Regions from separate parts of the Homo sapiens genome. Here region 1 is linked to region 2. The links are contacts of gene promoters, found by promoter capture Hi-C in human tissues and cell types (Jung and others, 2019). All regions are on one chromosome and are shown on one strand. The core of a region is centred on a gene start or on the middle of the fragment in contact, and the rest is flanking DNA. Distances in the headings are between cores, read along the strand shown.

Evidence for each region. Contacts are between HindIII fragments. The study calls those that stand out against the background at their distance.
Region 1: a fragment that was not itself captured here is called in contact with the fragment with the promoter of B4GALT7 in region 2 in 2 of the 25 tissues and cell types used here (lymphoblastoid cells and small bowel).

The regions. Positions count from the first base shown.
Region 1 is chr5:178,184,294-178,191,612 of GRCh38, reverse strand. It overlaps GMCL2 (germ cell-less 2, spermatogenesis associated), which reads left to right and starts at 4,242. Exons shown (of 1, transcript NM_001358008.2): 1 at 4,242-7,108. The coding sequence starts at 4,314. The coding sequence ends at 5,894. The HindIII fragment of the contact is 8,651 bases long and covers 1-5,932 here.
Region 2 is chr5:177,597,035-177,604,204 of GRCh38, reverse strand. It overlaps B4GALT7 (beta-1,4-galactosyltransferase 7), which reads right to left and starts at 4,073. Exons shown (of 6, transcript NM_007255.3): 1 at 3,945-4,073; 2 at 1-26. The coding sequence starts at 3,994. TMED9 (transmembrane p24 trafficking protein 9) reads right to left here. Exons shown (of 5, transcript NM_017510.6): 5 at 6,963-7,170. RefSeq lists a silencer at 3,721-4,260 and enhancers at 4,441-4,620, 4,821-4,920. The HindIII fragment of the contact is 7,199 bases long and covers 1-6,615 here.

The sequences.
Region 1 (7,319 bases), core at 358-2,857, 590 kb before region 2:
CAAGGCAGGTGGATCACTTGAGGTCAGGAGTTCGAGACCAACCTGGCCAACATGATGAAACCCCATCTCTACAAAAAATTCAAAAAATTAGCCAGGCATGGTGGCACATGCCTGTAATCTCAGCTACTTGGGAAGCTGAGGCACAAGAATTGTCTGACCCTGGGAGGTAGAAGCTGCAGTGAGCCGAGATAGCGTCATTACACTCCAGCCTGGGCAACGAGAGTGAAACTCTGTCTCAAAAATAAAATAAAATAAATTAAAAATAAATAAATAAAATAGAGATCATAAGACTGACAAAACAGACTTTTTTTTTTTAGACAGAGTTTCGCTCTTGTTGCCCAGGCTGGAGTGCAATGGCATGATCTTGGCTCACTGCAACCTCTGGCCCCCGGGTTCAAGTAATTCTTCTGCCTCAGCCTCCTGAGTAGCTGGGAATACAGGCGCCCACCACCACATCCAGCTAATTTTTTGTATTTTTAGTAGAGATGGGGTTTCACTATGTTGGCCAGGCTGCTCTCAAACTCTTGACCTCTTGACCTCAGGTGATCCACCCACCTCAGCCTCCCAAAGTGCTGGGATTACAGGTGTGAGACACCGTGCCTGGCTCAAAACAGAATTTTTGTAGCAATAAGATGCCAAATTTCTACCTGACTCTGGTACATCACGTAACAGATAGCAGACCCTGAAGGGCATCAAAATATTTTACCCCAAAATATATTTATTTGACAATATTTTGAAATGGCCCTGCAAAGCTGTCTCCCATGGGGGAAATTTGCATCTGTAGAGAATTTCCATTAATGTAGCCAGGACTTTGTCAGATTTAGGAGAGATTCAATGAGAGTCTGAGACTTTTGAAGGTCTGAAAAGAGACATTCACTATCTATTCTGAGGGCTGCTACCTGGAGGCTTCATCTACGTAACAAGAACCTCAGCTTCCACAACCCCTTTCTTAACCCAAGCATTTCTTCCCACTGACTTCAACGCTTTTTTTTTTTTTTTTGAGATGGAATCTCGCTCTGTCGCCCAGGCTGGAGTGCAATGCAACCTCCACCTCCCTGGGTTCAAGCGATTCTCCTGCTTCAGCCTCCAGAGTAGCTGAGACTACAGATGTGTGCTACCACACCCAGTTAATTTTTGTACTATTAGTAGAGACAGGGTTTCACCATATTGGCCAGGCTGGTCTCGAACTCCTGACCTCGTGATCTGCCCTCCTTGGCCTCCAAACTGCTGGGATTACAGGCGTGAGCCACCATGCCTTCAACTCTTTATTTTATTTTATCTTACTATTTTTTTTGGAGATGGAGTTTCACTCTTGTTGCCCAGGCTGGAGTGCAATGGTGCGACCTCGGCTAACTGCAACATCCACCTCCCAGGTTCAGGCAATTATCCTGCCTCAGGCTCCAGAGTAGCTGGGATTACAGATGCATGCCACCACTCCCAGTTAATTTTTCTATTTCTAGTAGAGATGGGGTTTCACCATATTGGCCAGGCTGGTATTGAACTCCTGACCTCAAGTGATCCATCTGCCTTGGCCTCCCAAAGTGCTGGGATTACAGGTGTGAGCTACTGCAACTGGCCTGTTTTATTTTATTTTTGAGACAGGGTCTCATTCTGTCCCCCGAGTTGGAATGCAGTGTCACAGTCATGGCTCACCATAGGCTCGACCTCCTGGGCTTAAGTAATCCTCCCACCTTAGCCTCCCAAGTAGCTGGGACTACAGGTGCACATCACGATGCCCAATTAATTTTTAAAATTTTTTTGTAGACACCGGGTCTCACTACGCTGCCCAGGCTTGTTGAAAACTCCTGGGATCAAGCCATCCTCCTCGGCCTCTCAAAGTGCTGGGATTACAGATGTCAGTCATTGTACCCAGCCACTTCAACTCTTTAGACAAAGCTTAACTTTTTCAACCAATTGCCAATCAGAAAACCTTTGAATCACCTATGACCTGTAACTCCCCTGGAGTTGTCCTGCCCTTATAGGCTGAAGCAATGTGTACTTTACATGTATTGATTGATGTATTTGCTTGTAACCTCTGTCTCCCTAAAATGTATAAAACCAAACTATAACCCAACCATCTGAGGCACACTTTCTCAGGACCTCTTGAGACTGTACCCCAGGTCATGGTCACTCATATCAGCTGAGAATAAACTTCTTTTTTTTTTTTTTTTTTTGAGATGGAGTCTCGCTCTGTCACCCAGGCTGGAGTGCAGTGGCGCAAGCTCTGCCTCCCGGGTTCACGCCAGAGAATAAACTTCTTTAAACATTTTACAGAGCTTTTTTTTTTTTTTTTTTTTTTTTTTGGTCAACATAGACCATTCACCTGGCCCCTTAACTCCAACAGAAACTCCAGATTTGCCTTTGGAATCAGGAGGCTGAGCTTCCTGACTTCCCAACTCTGGGATTTAGAACAAGTCACTTTCCCTATTGAAACCTCTGTTTTCTTCATCTGGGAATGGGGCAGGCACTCACATAGGTTTGAGGAAGCCACAGGGCTGGTCACTCTTCACTTGTGTCCAGCGTCCCATCCACCTCCCTGGCATGACCTTGCCTCCCCCTGCAGCACTGGCCCATCTAGGGCTCCCCACACCTACATATCTGGCCCTGATGCCCCTCGCCAATCTCTGCCCCCACTGTACCAAAGATGGAGCCCCGCATGGCGACTCCTACATTGCTCTGGGGGCACAGACCTCCATCTGCCTGGAACAGCCTCCCACCTTCCTCATCAAGTCCTGTTTTCTTACAGGAAGACACCCACATGCCCCAGCCATCCCATCCCCAAGGACTGGCCAAGCAGTTCCAGCACACCCCTCGGGTGGTCTCAGTGTGTGCCCTTCTCCAGTTCCTCCGGGTCTGGGCCTGGGTCAGCCCTTTACACACACGGGGTTCCCAACAAGTAGCTTCCAGATGGCCTGGTGAGGCTGCAGGGCAAATTTCCAGGACCATGCCCCACTTCTCCACTCCATCCCCCAAGGACAAAAGCCTCCTCAATTCCGACATCCTAATCCTGCTGCCCCTGTCTCCACAGATCCTCCCCACAGAGAATCCCTGCCTATCCTGCCCAGGCCCTCTGCTTGCTTCTGCCTTCCCAGACCGGCTGCAGTGATCATTTCACCCAGCCATGGTCACTTTCACCATATTGGCCAGGCTGGTCTTGAACTCCTGACCTCGTGATCTGCCCACCTCGGCCTCCCAAAGTGCTGGGATTACAGGTGTGAGCAGCCACCGTACCTGGCTTGACTTCAAGTCTTTATTCTATTTTATTTTATCTTATTATTTTTTTCTGGAGACGGAATTTCGCTCTTGTCGCCCAGGCTGGAATGTAATGATGCGATCTTGGCTCACTGCAACTTCTGCCTCCTGGGTTCAAGCAGTTCTCCATTTCAGCCTCCCGAAAAGCTGGGATTACAGGCGTGCACCACCACACCTGGCTAAATTTTATATTATTAGTAGAGATGGGGTTTCACCATGTTGGCCAGGCCAGTCTCAAACTCCTGACCTCATGTGATCCACCCACCTTGGCCTCCCAAAGTGCTGGGATTATAGGCATGAGCCACCGAGCCTGGCCTATTTTATTTTATTATTTTATTTTATTTTTGTGCCTGGTCGCAAATTTACATTGGACTGGTTAGGCTCAAGCGTCTGGTACACACATTTTCCTTTGTCAGGTCTTGCAAATAAAACTTTGCTCCTAGGGAAGTGGTCCTTCTAAAACGGACCTTGGTTTTGGCTGCCAGATGAGAATTGCTTCCAGCAATGAAGAATGCTGTCCAAGGAGTTCAAGACCACCCGGAGAAACACAGTGAAACCTTGTCTCTAAAAGAAATTGTTTTAGGCCGGAGGCAGTGGCTCACGCCTGTAGTCCCAGCACTTTGGGAGGCCAAGGTAAGAGGATCACCTGAAGTCAGGAGTTTGAGACCAGCCTGGCCAACATGGGGAAACCCCGCCTCTACTAAAAATACAAAAATTACCCAGGTGTGGTGGCGGGCGCCTGTAATCCCAGCTACTCAGGAGGCTGAGGCAGGAGAATCACTTGAACCCGCGAGGCAGAGGTTGCAGTGAGCCGAGATCGCGCCACTGCACTCCAGCCTGGGCGACAGAGCAAGACTCCGTCTCAAAAAAAAAAAAAAAAAAAAATTGTGGGGGAGGGGTGCGGAGGTTGGAGGCGGCAGTGTCCGCTGCAACGGTTGGGGCTGCGCGTGAGAAGGTGGCGGTGTAGGCACCTGTGCTCGGGGAAGGCTGGCGGCGGCGGCCGGGCCATGGCCAGAGACCCCCTCCTCTGGGCTCCCTGAAGTCCTGGGGAGCCGTGACCCATGGGATCGTCGAGCAGCCGGGTGCTGGGCCAGCCGAGGCGAGCCCTTGCCCAGCAGGAACAGGGTGCCAGGGCCAGGGGCTCGGCCCGGAGGCCGGACACTGGAGACGATGCGGCGAGCTACGGCTTCTGTTACTGCCCGGGCAGTCACAAGCGCAAGCGGAGCAGCGGGGCCTGCCGCTACTGTGACCCGGACTCGCACAGGGAGGAGCATGAGGAGGAGGGGGACAAGCAGCAGCCGCTCCTCAACACCCCTGCAAGGAAAAAATTAAGGAGTACATCCAAATATATTTATCAAACATTATTTTTGAATGGTGAAAACAGTGACATTAAGATTTGTGCTCTAGGAGAAGAATGGCGATTACACAAAATATATTTATGTCAATCTGGCTACTTTTCTAGTATGTTCAGTGGTTCTTGGAAAGAATCCAGCATGAATATTATTGAACTGGAGATTCCTGACCAGAACATTGATGTAGACGCACTGCAGGTTGCGTTTGGTTCACTGTATCGAGATGATGTCTTGATAAAACCCAGTCGAGTTGTTGCCATTTTGGCAGCAGCTTGTATGCTGCAGCTGGATGGTTTAATACAGCAGTGTGGTGAGACAATGAAGGAAACAATTAATGTGAAAACTGTATGCGGTTATTACACATCAGTAGAGATCTATGGATTAGATTCTGTAAAGAAAAAGTGCCTTGAATGGCTTCTAAACAATTTGATGACTCACCAGAATGTTAAACTTTTTAAAGAACTCGGTATAAATGTCATGAAACAGCTCATTGGTTCCTCTAACTTATTTGTGATGCAAGTGGAGATGGATGTATACACCACTCTAAAAAAGTGGATGTTCCTTCAACTTGTGCCTTCTTGGAATGGATCTTTAAAACAGCTTTTGACAGAAACAGATGTCTGGTTTTCTAAACAGAGAAAAGATTTTGAAGGTATGGCCTTTCTTGAAACTGAACCAGGAAAACCATTTGTGTCAGTATTCAGACATTTAAGGTTACAATATATTATCAGTGACCTAGCTTCTGCAAGAATTATTGAACAAGATGGTATAGTACCTTCAGAATGGCTGTCTTCTGTGTATAAACAGCAGTGGTTTGCTATGCTGCGGGCAGAACAAGACCGTGAGGTAGGGCCTCAAGAAATCAATAAAGAAGACCTAGAGGGAAATAGCATGAGGTGTGGTAGAAAGCTTGCCAAAGATGGTGAATACTACTGGTGTTGGACGGGTTTTAACTTCGGCTTTGACCTACTTGTAATTTACACCAATGGATACATCATTTTCAAACGCAATACACTGAATCAGCCACGCAGCGGGTCTGTCAGTTTACGGCCTCGAAGGAGCATAGCATTTAGATTACGCTTGGCTTCTTTTGATAGTAGTGGAAAACTAGTATGTAGTAGAACAACTGGCTATCAAATACTTATACTTAAAAAGGATCAGGAACAAGTGGTGATGAACTTGGACAGCAGGTTTCTGACCTTCCCTTTATATATCTGCTGTAACTTCTTGTATATATCACCAGAAAAAGGAATTGAAAATAATCGTCACCCAGAAAATCCAGAAAACTGAAGATCTCATCAGTTGGAAACAGTAGCACTTTGAAAACTTTCAGGCCAGCTTTAATTTAATGGCCCTACTGATATTCACATCTAAGTTGACTAACAATGACAAAGGCCTTATGAACTGTACGGACAATACAGAAGACTATTCTTATCCTCATTGCATTTCTATGCATATACAAAAAAAATCATTTTAAAGCCAAGAAAATATCTGTCAAACCATTTCTGTCAGTACGATGTCAACTCATGCTTTTAATTCAGCATCAGCAGAAAATGACTGTAGGTAAATCTCACATTTATCTGCAACAAAATATAGATTTAATTTTTAGCTTAAACTTTGTTTCTACCTTATGTTAGTGGACCTCAGTTATCCATCTGTAAATTTATTTTTATTTGGCTAAAATAATCTAAAAGAATAATTTGGATGGCCAATTAGAAATGCTCTTTTGAGCTGGGGCATTTAAAGCTTTCCTTTAATATTTTTACCTGCTCATTATGATTCCTCCTTTTAGTCTAATATCTTTCCAGTTCATACTTGTTTTTAATCATTAAATACTTTCTTCCTGGTTTGGAGACTAAGCTGAGAAACTTTTTTTAAACTTAAGCATTGTCATATGCTATTTTTTAAAATTTGGCTTTCCTAGGATTTTAAGAACAATGAAAGTTAGCTTCACACCTTCAAATGATCTTGAATGCGTGAAAAATCAGTTTGATTCCAGGGATATTTCTTGTCTTACATGGTCTTTTCTTTGACAGTCTGTACACCTTTATTATTAGTTTTTGAGTTATTTATGTACCAGATATTATACTTTTAAATATTTTAATATTCTCTGATCTTTACAATTATTTATGTTCAAATTTTAGTTGGGAGTTTTGTTTCCTACTTAAGCTCAGGACTTGATACCCTCTGAGATGAGTGGCTTTGAGTGACATGCTAACAGCAATTTCATAGTAAATGTAAATAAGGTCAGAGGATCTAACATAGAAGCTGATGACGCATTAATGTAAAAATGGAACTTATTTTTGTCAAAAATAAGATGTACACTTGTCATGATTTATATATGTTGACCTTTTGTGTTTACTGCTGTTTTGAATAGAGCCATGTTCATTTTCTTTCCAGTTAGAGTAAGTACTTCTGTGGTTAATGTATATTTTTATTCTGGCTTTTAAAATGGGAATAATTTGTATGTATCTGTGCAAATAATAAATGCGCATTTGGAAAAAGATTAAGTAAGCTCTTATATGAAATGGACCAAAAAACCCCCCTTAATTGAAACCAACATTTTTTTTCTTTCTAGTTAGATTTTTTTCCAACTCCTTTTAACTTTTGGAATTTACTAATAATTTTTTTTCTTTCTTAATGATATGTCCATAGGTTCATAAATTGCTTTTTCTTTTAAAATTCATCTACTTGGTTTAACTTAAAGGAACCTTT
Region 2 (7,170 bases), core at 2,824-5,323:
GGAGGCCGCCGGAGAGCAACCCGGACCTGGAGCAAGCGCGGGACAGGGTCAGGAGGGCGGGGCAGGGCTGGCCCTGTGACAGACCCGTTCTCTGGCCTCCCCACGAGGAGGCTGCACATAACTCGTCTACCCCAAGCACCTGGGAATTAGTACAGAAGCAACTTTAATGTTTCTGCTCATGCCACTACCATGCATCCGAATCCTGCTTGCCTCTCTAGACCCAACCCATGCCACCCGCTCTCGGGAAGCCCTCTGAACCACTCCCAGTTCACAGAGCTGCCCCGGCTCCTCAATGCTCTCTTACTTTCTGTGACTGAGTCCTGGTCAGAGCTGCTCAGGGCAAGGATGAGGAGGCTCCTGTCACTTGCAGGTGCTCCTCCCCACGATAGTGGCTCAATGTCCTGAGCCAATGACAGGAGTCCCCACCTTAGAGATGCAACCCACTGCTTTCCAAACCCGCTCCCCTACAGATCCACCCCAGCAGAAACCGTGGCTCCATCCTGCTTCCAAGAATGACCAGAAAGGCCACCCAGACACGGGTGTGTGCTGGCATTAGTCCAGGTAAAATGACCAATGTTTACTCTGGGAAGATCAGACGTGCCCCCCGAAGCAATGCAAGGCCCAAACTGTCAGTGGCGGTTCACTGAACGAGCCTCAAACCTTTAGTCCAAGAGGCAGCTCATGATAAAAGATGGGAGATGGAGAGGGAAAGAAAGATGAGGGCTGGGTACAGCACAGGCACTGATTTCAGAAACTGGAAAAACAGCTGAACATCACAGACACTGGGGTGATGCCAGGAGACAGCCTTTTGGTTAGCAAATACAAAGAAACAGAATTCACCAGATTCCTTTGCCGCTCCTCTGGAAGTTCCTGAGTATGCTGAGACAGGAGCTGAGGAATCCATGAAGGGAGAAGCTTCCTCTGTACTCCCCCTACCTTCTCCCCAAAGTAATCTGCAAAGGAATCCACTTCACAATCTTAAGAGTCAGCGATTAGCTATCAGGTCTTATAAATTCTATCTCCTGGCCAGGCGTGGTGGCTCACGCCTGTAATCCCAGCACTTTGGGAGGCCGAGGCAGGTGCATCACGAGGTCAGGAGCTCAAGACCAGCCTGGCAAATATGGTAACACCCCATCTCTACTAAAAATACAAAAATTAGCTGGGTGTGGTGGTACGCGCCTATAGTCCCAGCTACTTGGGAGGCTGAGGCAGAAGCATAGCTTGAATCTGGGAGGCGGAGGTTGCAGTGAGCTGAGATCACGCCACTGCACTCCAGCCTGGGCAACAGAGCGAGACTCCATCTCATAAATAAATAAATAAATAAATAAATTCTATCTCCTAAGTCCCCCTCTGATCCTTCCTCACTCATCTGTTCCTTGCCCTGCTCAGACCCCTTCAGTCTTCTGAATGACCCTCCTCTGTTTGCCAGACAAAGGCCAAGCCCTTTGGCCTGACAGTCAAAGCCCTCCATGACCTGGCCCCAACTCCAGGTGCTCCCAAGCCTTCGCCCCATGTTCTCATGTTGGGCACCTCGGAGCTTCTCCACTTGCTATATTCCTTCCTGCTCCAGCCCTCACACAGCCTGCTCCTTCTGCCTGAAATGTCCTTCTTTATCTGCCTGAGGACCCCTGTTGATCCTTCAGAGCCGAACTCCAATGTCATGGCCAGCACTGCCCCCTGCCCCCATAATGCTCCCACTTTTGTATTCCCACGGCATCTTCCCACTTTTTTGTAATGCCTTGTGTCCTTGCTTCTCAGGCCGTGTCAGATTCTTATCTGTGGCCCCAGCACAGCAAGCACAGGCCAGACAGCAGAGAGCTTGCCAAGTGAGTTACAGAAAGGGGTAAGGCAGTCAGGGCATGCCTTAAGTCACATGCTAAAGCCAGACCAACTCCTCCCTTTTTCTAGAGAGACCGCCAACCTGGAAGCCAGTAGCCTTGCAGCCAGGCCCAGGTTCCACACGCAGCTGAGAGGTGGCCTGGTAGGAAACCCCCCAGGGCTTCTGACTTACCCCCCATTATCCTGTGGTGGTGGATTCAGCTGGGGAGGAGCACAGCCCAGTCCTGAGAGTGGTCTGGGAAGGCTGGAACCTCTACAGATTCTCCCTTGCCCTCTGGGCTTTTTCTGGGGACAGGGTAGAGACTGGAGAGATGGATATGGGGTGATATCCCACCTTCATGAAAAGAAGCAGTGACTATTATCCAGGGGAACGGCGTGGACTGGGTACTCCGAGCACGTCCACACGCTAATTCCCTCGGCCCTGCTCCCCTCTCCTATGAGGACCACATCCCCATGGGCATCATCCTGTGCTCTAAGAGCACAAACCGCAGAGCAACTGGATTGAACCCAGAGTCCCAATTCCTCAGGACAGTGGACACCGAGAACAATTGTTCCTGGTGCCACCAGGTGGCAAACCAGATTTGCAGTCCCAGTGGCTCCCAGGCCCAGGCCACCCTGGCTCTGAGGGGCAGTCCAGAAGAGGCTTTGTCTCCCTCATCAATCACTGCCCAAGACTAGTAAAAGGCGGATTCAAACCCAGGCAGGCTGGCTCCAGAGCCTACACTAGATAGCTACACTAGCCTGCATCAGTTGCGTGGATCTTTGCACCAACCCTGTGTCAAAAGCACAGAATTGACATCAGTAAATTTCTCTGGAAACAGCTATGGAAAAGGATCAGGAAATAGAAATGCTCCTCTGTTACCTTTCCTTTCTTGTCTCATACAGACCTTCGTACTACGAGGTTTGAATCCTCAGCTGCTCTGGTTACAGGACCTCAAAACTGCAAAGGTAACGGGAAGACAACTGGCACCTCCTGTTGTGCTAGGCAGTGCCATGCTCTTTACATGTGTGCGGTCCTTTAATCCTCACACAGCCCTGCAGAGCCAATACTGTCATAACTGGCTCAGTGACGGAAAGGCTGCGGTCGGACAGATGCAGGGGTCTCTGCTCACATAATTACGGAGGACTCCTGCCCAGGTCGAACGCTAGTCCACGCTTTCTATTATATTCCTGTTTTCCCCTTTCAACACCAAGTCTGAAAAATCCCCAAAAGTACAAGTTGTGGCCACTAAATTCCAGAATCTTATGGCACCTGACGGACTTAAGAAACATGAAGGAAATGAGGTGTCATTCACGAGGAGGAGATCCAGTCATGTGTTCTGTGAGAAGACTTACAGGGACACATCTCAAGTGCCCCACGAATGGAGGCAGTCAAATCGCTTTCCCCATTCTGCTTTAGTGAGAAACAAAATTAGCTAAGGTGTGGGCCAAGCTCGCATCTTTCACGTAGGGCCAATACAGCTGCACAGGAAATGGACTAATGCGTGTATAAGGAGTGTCTAGTACGTGCCAGGCAGTGACCAGCCAGGCAGAGCACGGAGCTTCTGTCTGGTGGGTTCTGCTGGTGGCCTGCGAAGGATGGGGGGAAGTGTTAAGGAGGAAGGGTAGGGTCTGAGGCTATATGGATGTGATGAGGAAGGCAGAGACCAGAGAAACGGAATACACGTCCTCAGGGATCAGAGACAAATTGAGAAACACAAATCCATGGTGAGAGGTCAGCGGAGTCAGAGACCCGCATGCAGATAGAGGGAGGCTGGTGGAGAAACACAGACACAACGAAACACATAACGAGAGAGACTAGCAAAGAGGGGATCAGAAACTCACAAAGGGAAGTCAATGGAGAAATACGGACCCACGGGCCGGGGGGAAGGTGCTGGGGGAAGGACGAGTGCCGCGGAAAGGGAGAGGGGGCGGGGGAGGCAGAGACCCACAGGGACAGACAGAAACCGGAACAGAGCGCCAGGGACCCACAGGGAGAACCACACGCCCTCACAGAAACCCGCAGACATGGAGACGTGATGGCCTCGGGTTCCCAGATTCCGCCGGCGGCCGAGAAGGGAGCGGCGCCCGGGAGGACGGGGCCCGGGCCCACCGCCGCCGCTCACCTGCCGTCCTCCCAGGGCAGCTGCGCCGCTTTCCTCCGCGAGGGGAACATCGTGCGGAGAGGCGGCGGCGCATGGGGCAGGCGCTCGCAGCCCGGCCGGCCCGGCCTCCCGGGCCTACGCGGCGCCTCCGCCTCCCGCTCCGCCCAGGCCTGTCCGCCCCGCCCCCCGGTCCGCCGGGTCCGCCGCTCCGGCCGCGCCGCCAGCTCCCGGAGCCGCCGCCTCCAAGGTTCTGCTTGCGAGCAGCGCGGGCGCGCCTCCCTCTCTGGGCGGCTCCTTCCTAGCCGCCCCGGGACCCGCCTGGAAGCCCGAGAAACTGAAGCCCAGAGGCCCAGGGCCTCCCAACAAATCACTGGGCTGGGACTGGACCTAAGAGTCCAGACTCCCAAACCAACGCTCGGGGAGAATCTGCATCTCCGTCCTCTTTCCGAGGGGAGGCGGGAGCGTCCCGGGGTCCCCGTCTCGGCCCAGGCGGCGCGTTCTCCGCGCAAGCTTGGAGGGGCAAAGCCAAGCTCACGGCTCGGCGCTGAGTTCAGCTGACAGCCCGCGCAGGCGTTAGGAGCCGAGCCCTGAAGACAAGTTGACTGAATTTGAAACCCGACTCTGCTTGCCGGGCGCGGTGGCTCACGCCTGTAATCCCAGCACTTTGGGAGGCCGAGGCGGGCGGATCACGAGGTCAGGAGAGCGAGACCATCCTGGCTAACACGGTGAAACCCCGTCTCTACTAAAAATACAAAAAATTAGCCGGGCGTGGTGGCGGGCGCCTGTTAGTCCCAGCTACTCGGGAGGCTGAGGCAGGAGCATGGTGTGAACCCAGGAGGCGGAGCTTGCAGTGAGTCGAGATCGCACCACTGCACTCCAGCCTGGGTGACAGGGCGAGACTCCGTCAAAAAAAAAAGAAAAGAAAAAGAAAAAGAAACTAGACTCTGCCAATTCAGCTGTGTTTTGACCAAGCCACATCTCTGCATCTGTTTCCTCACCTGGGTATATCAATGGCTCCTATTCTATATGGTAGCTGTGGGGATTCAAGGAGAAAGTGCAAACACTTGTGCAGCGCTAGGCACACAGTTCAACGCCATATAAATGACAGCTGTCATCCAGGAAAAGGGTACTTTGGTGGAGCTGAGAACTGAAGAAGGGAATAGGAGACTGAGTTCCCATATCTGCCCCGTCACCGTGGGAACTTAACCATCCCCCTCACCCCCAGCCCCCCCACCCCTCCTACTAGCCTCCTACCTGGGGAAAGAAAGCGGCAATTGTTAGACTTGACCTCCTCTGCTCTTCCAGGCAAACTTTTAAGTTTCCTAATAGATAGCAAACATCTATTAAGTTCTTATTATGTGCCAGTCATTGTTAATAGTTCTTACTACATGAGGGTTATCTCACGTAGTCCTTATCGGTAGGTGCTTATCCCCAAGTTAAAATTGAGAGAACTGAGGCACAGAGAGGCAAATCAGGTAGTTTGGTTGCAAATCTATGGGTTTGGGGTTTTTGTTTTGTTCTTCCCCACAATCTATGATCTTAATCACTCTGCTCCAGAGAGAACTTCACCGTGGGTGGGAAATGAATCATTCCCAGTAACCCCTTTACCCCGTAAACCTGGAAGTATATAATCCACCCATTCCCCTTCCTGTTGACTCCCCCAGGGCACTGCATCCTACCCCAGAACCGTGGTCAATGCACAGCCCATCTAAAGGGGACCACTCCATCCGGTTAGCTGTTACTATATCAGGATGAAGCTCTACTTCAGATTGTCAGATTCACACTCTCAAGAAATCAGATCTCAAATGAAAACCCAAATTATCTAATTTTTAAATGTGATATCCAGCTAAGAGCCATGTTGATAATGACACTTCAACTCTGATCTCTTTTCTACTTTTTTATTTTATTTTATTTTATTTATTTATTTATTTTTTGAGACAGAGTCTCACTCTGTCAGTCAGGCTGGAGTGCAGTGGCACGATCTCGGCTCACTGCAACCTCTGCCTCCCGGGGTCAAGCAATTCTCCTGTCTCAGCCTTCCGAGTAGCTGGGATTACAGGCGCCTGCCACCACGCCTGGCTAATTTTTGTATTTTTAGTAGAGACGGGGTTTTACCATGTTGGCGGCTGGTCTCGAACTCCTGACCTCAGGTGATCCGCCTGCCTCTGCCTCCCAAAGTGCTGCGATTACAGGCGTGAGCCACCATGCCCAGCCTGTGGTCTCTTTTCAAAAACCCACAACTCTAGTCTAATCATGAGAAAAACATCAGACAAATCCTAGCTGAGAAATCGTACAAAATACCTGACCTGTACTCCTCAAAACAGTCAAGGAATCATCAAAAACAAGGAAGGTCTAAGAAACTGTCACAGCCAAAAGGAGCCTAAGGAGACACAGTGACTAAATGTGATGTGGAATCCTGGAACAGAAAAAGGACAGTAGGTAAAAACTAAGGAAGTCTGGATAAAGTAATGCATGATGTTACTAATAGGGAAAATGTCTTCACAATTTTTCTGCACTTTTAAAGCTGTTCTTTAAAAATACTTTTTTTTTTTTTTTTGACATGGAGACTTGCTCCGTTGCTCAGGCTGGAGTGCAGTGAAGTGATCTCGGCTCACTGCAAGCTCCGCCTCCTGGGTTCACGCCATTCTCCTGCCTCAGCCTCCCAAGGAGCTGGGACTACAGGCGCCCACCACCACGCCTGGCTAATTTTTTGTATTTTTTTTTTTTTTTTTTTTTGTAGAGATGGGGTTTCATCATGTTAGCCAGGTTGGTCTCGATCTCCTGACCTCGTGATCTGCTCGCCTTGGCCTCCCAAAGTGTTGGGGTTACAGGTGTGAGCCACCGCTCCCGGCCTTTTTTTTTTTTTTTTTTTGAGACAGAGTCTCACTGTAGCCCAGGTTGGAGTGTAGTGGTGTGATCTTGGCTCACTGCAACCTCTGTCTCCTGGGTTCAAGCAATTCTGCCGCCTCAGCCTCCCAAGTAGCTGGGATTTCAGGCATGCGCCACCACACCTGGCTCATTTTTTGTATTTTTAGTAGAGATGAGGTTTCACCATGTTGGCCAGGCTGGTCTCAAACTCCTGGCCTCAGGCCATCCACCTACCTCAGCCTCCCAAAGTGCTGGGATTACAGGTGTGAACCACCGTGCCCGCCAAAAAACTTTTTTTTTTCATGTGGAAGAATTAGTTGGCAGCATGAGCCCAGATTGCATCATCCCATTAGGGGAAGCAGCCCCCAAACTTGTCTCC